Regions from separate parts of the Homo sapiens genome. Here region 1 is linked to region 2. The links are contacts of gene promoters, found by promoter capture Hi-C in blood cells and fetal thymus (Javierre and others, 2016). All regions are on one chromosome and are shown on one strand. The core of a region is centred on a gene start or on the middle of the fragment in contact, and the rest is flanking DNA. Distances in the headings are between cores, read along the strand shown. Region 1 holds the start of EIF4A2 (eukaryotic translation initiation factor 4A2). Region 2 overlaps ST6GAL1 (ST6 beta-galactoside alpha-2,6-sialyltransferase 1).

Region 1 (2,700 bases), core at 9-2,508, 280 kb after region 2:
TCAGGTCAGTCCCGAAAGATGATTGCCATCATTTCACTTTAAGGAATACAAACAGGTGCTAGTCCCCCAGAGGTTACTTTCCCTTTTATGGTTCATGTCTATGTAGAACAATTTCCTAAAAATGCCAGTTTCTTTTACCTTTAATACAGGGAATAATAGCTCTCTGCTGAATAGCGGAAGGCTTCTCAAAACCGTAAGCATAGATGCCACGAAGGAGAGACTCCTTTAAATTCATATCATCAAAGTTATCAACAATCTCATTCCAGTTGCTCTGTAAGTTAGAAAAAATAATGCACGCATAAATGAGATGAACACACTCACCTTTCCAAAGCTTCAAGATCCACAACCGTTTCTTACCTCGATGACACCATCGGGGTCCATTCCCTCTGGGCCGCCATGTTCTCTGCTGACAAGAATACTGCAGTCAGACACCCCTTCCAGGCCACCTCAACTGCACCTTAAGCGCATAGCCCTTTGCAACCCGTCTCAGCACGTTAGCCTCCCCTGCACAAGCTAAAGCAGCAGCCTCAGGGCGAATATCCACACTGTGCGCCTTCCCTAAAGGTTGGGGCCTGCGGATGCCCGGAAAGGCAGCCCCCCAGGCCCGAGCGCATGGCGATCCCGTTTCAACTGCGGAGCGTCTCGCGAGAGCTCGGAGCGCCGAACTCCGCCCCCAACAATGCGCAAGCCGGGTGATTGACGCGGGCGGAGCGGCCTGGCGAGGGCGATGCCAACGGTTCACCGGCACCGGTCCTGTCCCGTCGCCTCCGCGCCGTGGCCGAGTGGAGACCGCTGCCTCCAACCCTTCCCCAAGTAAAGCCTAGGACCCTCCCCCAACTCGTGTGGATGACCGAAAATAAAGCTTCGGGTCCTGGTTACAGTGTACCGAACTCGGACTGCGCCACGGCTTTTTACTCCATGTTTCCCGTGCTCTACACTGGGAAGGAAAGCAGCCGAAGTTTCGTAATGTCTTAGAGAGGAAAAACGCCCTTTAGCCACTGCTTTCGCACCACCGTCCTATCTCCCCACAATCCGGGCCCTACCCATCATGGAAGCTTCTGGAAGGGCACAGGAGTGCTGTACCCTAAGAAAACGTCCATTAATTTAGAGTTTTTGCCTCCGTGCCATCCACTATCATCTCCCCTGGCGCCCTATGACCTTCACTACAGACCGCGACCGCCAACAGACTGCATACCTGTTATAATCCGCGGAGCCACCAGACATGATCCGAAAAACCACTCAGCGCCCGACTGAAAAGACAGCGGCGCCCAACCACCCGTTTTTTATAGGCTCGTGGCCGGAACCCGTTTCTTGCGGAGGAATTTTCTCGCCGTGCTTCGGTCAGCTACAAAATTGTGATCCTGGGGTCGTTACCTCGGATAAAATCCTAAGCAAGTTGGTAGAAAAACCCAAATGTGGTAATTTCTCGATATTACAGGGTCGCTGGAAATCCTAGGGCCCGGGGTTGGGTTGGGACTCTTTACCTCGCGGCGGAAGAATATAGCTGCGGAGTTAGTTAAACCTCGCTTTCCCCGCCCGCCCTGCTCCTACGGGGTTTCCGCGTCCCTGACGCAGAGGCGGGCCGGGGGAGCCGCGCCGGAGCCGGAGGCGGAAACCGGAGATGCTGTTCGTCGGGCGGCCGGGGCTTCCCGCGGGTGACAGGTCCCGGCTCGCGGCTCGCTGCCGGCACTCAGGTGCGGGAGGGGAACTCGGTTATTCCGCTTGCTCCCACCGCTGTTTAATTCCACAATGAAGACCTGCCTGGCATTTAGCCCGACCGTTAACATCCATTCAGATCTTGGAAACGTAAAATTCCTGCTAGGGAAAATGTCGGCCACCCAGCGAGTCCCGGGAAGTCCGGTTTACCGGTACATTTTGCAGCGCGAGAAGGAAAAATGGAGTGTCATTTGCAGATGTCTCTGGAGTGGCCAATTCTATTCTCATATCATTTCCGGTCTCTCGCTTTCTTTTTAAGAGTGTTACTGATTTTAACCTAACAGGTGTGAGGAATGCCTGAAAAAAATCATAAACTTTTGCAAATGGATAGAAACTAAGCAGTAATTTTCCTTGGAACGCACGAATTTAAATGGACGCTTTGGCAGATACAGCTCTGTGCCGCTTTGGGACTACATCGGTTTTGATTCCGTCTATATTGGTCATTTTTTAAAGGCTGTAGACTTTGCCGATATATAGTGAAATGTTGATTTATTGAAATTCAGAGCAATAATATCCTTGCTGCGTAAACTGCACGGGTCTTTAAGCTCCAGACGTTTTCAATTAGCCCCATCTCAGGTCTCTCGACAAAAACAAAAAACAATATATGTAGTCATTTAACTTTAAAATACAACCCTACCCATGGTGCAAAATATCATCGAGACTATCAGGGTAACATTTTCTCATATTTCAGAAGGCCAACTTAAAGAATCATTACTGGGAAAGCTGACTCAATTTTCTATATTATAGAAGATATTCGGTTCTAAATACTACTTTTTTAATACAAAAATTATTTATTTATTTGAAAATTCTTATCGTGCCAGGAACTAGGACAAAGATTAAGAATACCAAGATGGCAAAGTGGGCCAGGCCCTCAGTCCAGTGGTACTGCTCCTCATTCATCCCTCTGTAATGTTCGAAATCCAGATTTGAGGTGATGCCAGATATTTTCTGAGAATGATGGTCGTCAGACATCCTTGTTGTCTC
Region 2 (2,700 bases), core at 185-2,684:
AGATGGTATATATAATATATTTAACAAATGGCATCAACTATTATTTCAAGATAAGCCCCACTGAGTAATCTGGAAATGTCCTGGTTGCAGTCCAGTCAGTGTGGACTGTTGCTAGGCATATAGGAAGTAGGTCTTCTCTCTCCAGCTAGCACAAAAGCTTCCAAGGAAGCCACTGGGTCTTCTTGTCCCATTGTCTCCTCTCTCAGGCCCACAGGGTACAGGAGGTACTGAGTTGAGTCTCACAGAAACCTTCTTACTCTTATAGTCAAAACTGCATTTATTTAAAGACCTGTCCATTTACATATATCATTTTTCCTGTTGACTCTCATAGCCACACCTGGCACAGAAGTGTCACATGCCTGACTAGGTCTGCTGGCCTGAAACCTAACAGTATGACACCATTCTCTATAAAAAGCCACCTTCTCAATAAGAAAAGTGCCTTTTTTGTTTTGCATGCCTTCATCATGGCCAAGGGAGGGGAGCTGAACAAATGTGGGTCCAGATGGCTTTAGAAGAGAGCTGCTAAAGCCAGGCGCAGTGGCTCATGCCTGTAATCCCAGCACTTTGGGAGGCTGAGGCAGGTGGATCACCTGAGGTCAGGAGTTTGAGACTAGTCTGGCAAACATGGCAAAACCCTGTCTCTACTAAAAATACAAAAAATTAGCTGGGCATGGTGGTGCATGCCTGTAATCTCAGCTACTTGGGAGACCGAGGCAGGGGAATCACTTGAACCCAGGAGGCAGAGCAGGGAGCCGAGAGTGCACCACTGCACTCCAGCCTGAGCGCAAGAGCAAAACTCTGTCTCAAAAAAAAAAAAAAAGAAAAAGAAGAGAGCTGCTGTCAGGAGACCTCTCCGTCTGGGAAAAGAACAAGCCACTCAGAGGCAGAATTCTACCAAAGCAACAGCTATTCTCTCAGTGACTTCTGGGTGCCAGATGTTCTCCTTGTGGAGTGGGGGTGGGGACCCCGTTTACTAATCCACAGAAACAGACACAAAATAGTTAGGATAACTGACCAGGACAAAAGATAGAGAAGACAGACCACCAGCTTTTTAGGATATCAAGGTAAGAAAGGGCAATGATAGAAAGTGTCCATCACAGTTCAGTACCACCACAAGTGCTGTCATGGAGCGGCCAGGACTCGAGTACGAAAGGAACAGCCAGATACTTAGTGTTGCTTACAGGAGGTGAGAAAAGAGAGCTGACTTGCCTAAGAAGCAGCAGGAAAGGCTCTCTTGAGGGTGGGTAGTGTATCCCGGGAAGTGGGCCACCTTCCTCGCAGCCCTGGCACAATGGTGCACAGAGATCTAGAAGTGTAATGGGAAAAAAATCTGCTTCAGTAGAAAGCCATGCATTTTCTGAGCACACTCTTCCTCCCTGTCAGATTCTGATTCCACGGGAGCTATTTCGCAACCCTTTGTGAATTGTAGGCAACTAATACATGTGCCTACTGGGCAGGATGCTGCCCAGGAGAGTTTCAATTGATTTCTCCCCTCCCCCTGCCTTATCTCACAGAAAAACTAGTTCAACTCCTTTACTCCAAATTTGTGTTGCTTTGACTTTTCCTTTGAACCAGTTGTAATATCTGCCTGGTTCCATCATACGAGTAAAATAAAATCTTCATGATGAATTCATTTTTAATATCTGTATGAGAGTCATCATCTTACCTTTTTTTCCCTAAAAATTATCCTTTAACAGAAGTTTTGCCTCCCTTCTGCTAGATGCCTCTCAAGTGGTCTCAAGCTGACTCACCTTCCCTGTTGGGATTTGGGAAGGTGGAGTCATTCGCAAACAGGCAGAGGCAGACATTCAGGTTTCAGTAGTGCCCATCGCTACTATTTACAAAGCACTTGCTGCATACCAGCCTCTGGGTGACATGCTCCACACATAGTAACTCCTTTGATCCTAAAAAAAAACCCTGGATAGTAACTATTCATATTTCTGTGTTACAAGTAAGGGAAATGAGGCTCAGAAAGGTAAAGTAAAGCAACTTGCTGAAGTCACTCACACAGGAAGTGTTGGGGGAGGGATCTGATCAAAGCCTGCCTGACTCCAGTACTCTTAATTCCCAGGCAACCTTACTTTGGCCTTAAATACAGTTTCAAATCTTTGCAGGACTGGGGTTTCGTTCTTCACAGTGAGGAAGACTGAATCATCACGAAGAAGTGCTCAGAGAGTAGGTAGCCTCCGCAGTCCAAGAGAGTGCTCAGGGAGGGCTCCTCCCCTCTCCCCTCTCCTCTTTGCTGCTGCCTGCTCACCTCCAGATCCTACCATCCATGTATCAAACAGAGATTGGTTTCTCTCTAAATTCATTCTCTTCAACCTCAAAGTAGCCCAGCATGGCCTGGAAATCCTACTCCATTCATCAGGTTTACTGACGGTCCCACTCACCTCAATGACAATTATAAATCTCTTTGTTCAAACCTTCTCTACTAAAACCTCTTTCCCCCTCAGCCTCCTTCTGACTTGGCCTTGCATGCCACTTTGCAGAGAAAATAGAAGCCCTCTCATCCTTCTAATACTGACTGCCTCCAGCTACACCACTCGCACCTTCTTCCCTCTGACTCCCGCCTGCTGGGGTTCATCCTCCACTACGCTTTGGCTCCACCACCATCATGTTGTGGGTAACTAATCATTTTCTCCTCTTTTTAGTATATTCACTTTCTCCCTCTATCAACTGGTTTCTCCCTGTTGATTTAAA

Evidence for each region. Contacts are between HindIII fragments. The CHiCAGO score rates a contact against its expected background, and 5 or more counts as called.
Region 1: a contact is called between the fragment with the promoter of EIF4A2 here and a fragment that was not itself captured in region 2, in 1 of 17 cell types (total B cells). The highest score is 5.7, in total B cells.

Annotation. Positions count from the first base shown.
Region 1 is chr3:186,782,135-186,784,834 of GRCh38, reverse strand. EIF4A2 (eukaryotic translation initiation factor 4A2) reads right to left here and starts at 1,258. Exons shown (of 11, transcript NM_001967.4): 1 at 1,196-1,258; 2 at 358-403; 3 at 139-271. The coding sequence starts at 1,224. It overlaps SNORD2 (small nucleolar RNA, C/D box 2), which reads right to left and starts at 39; the gene lies at 1-39. RefSeq lists an enhancer at 353-582. The HindIII fragment of the contact is 20,029 bases long and covers 1,058-2,700 here.
Region 2 is chr3:187,063,126-187,065,825 of GRCh38, reverse strand. All of the region lies in intron 5 of ST6GAL1 (ST6 beta-galactoside alpha-2,6-sialyltransferase 1), which reads right to left. Among named protein-coding and RNA genes, the nearest start is that of RPL39L, 75 kb to the left of the region's middle. RefSeq lists an enhancer at 13-192. The HindIII fragment of the contact is 2,549 bases long and covers 160-2,700 here.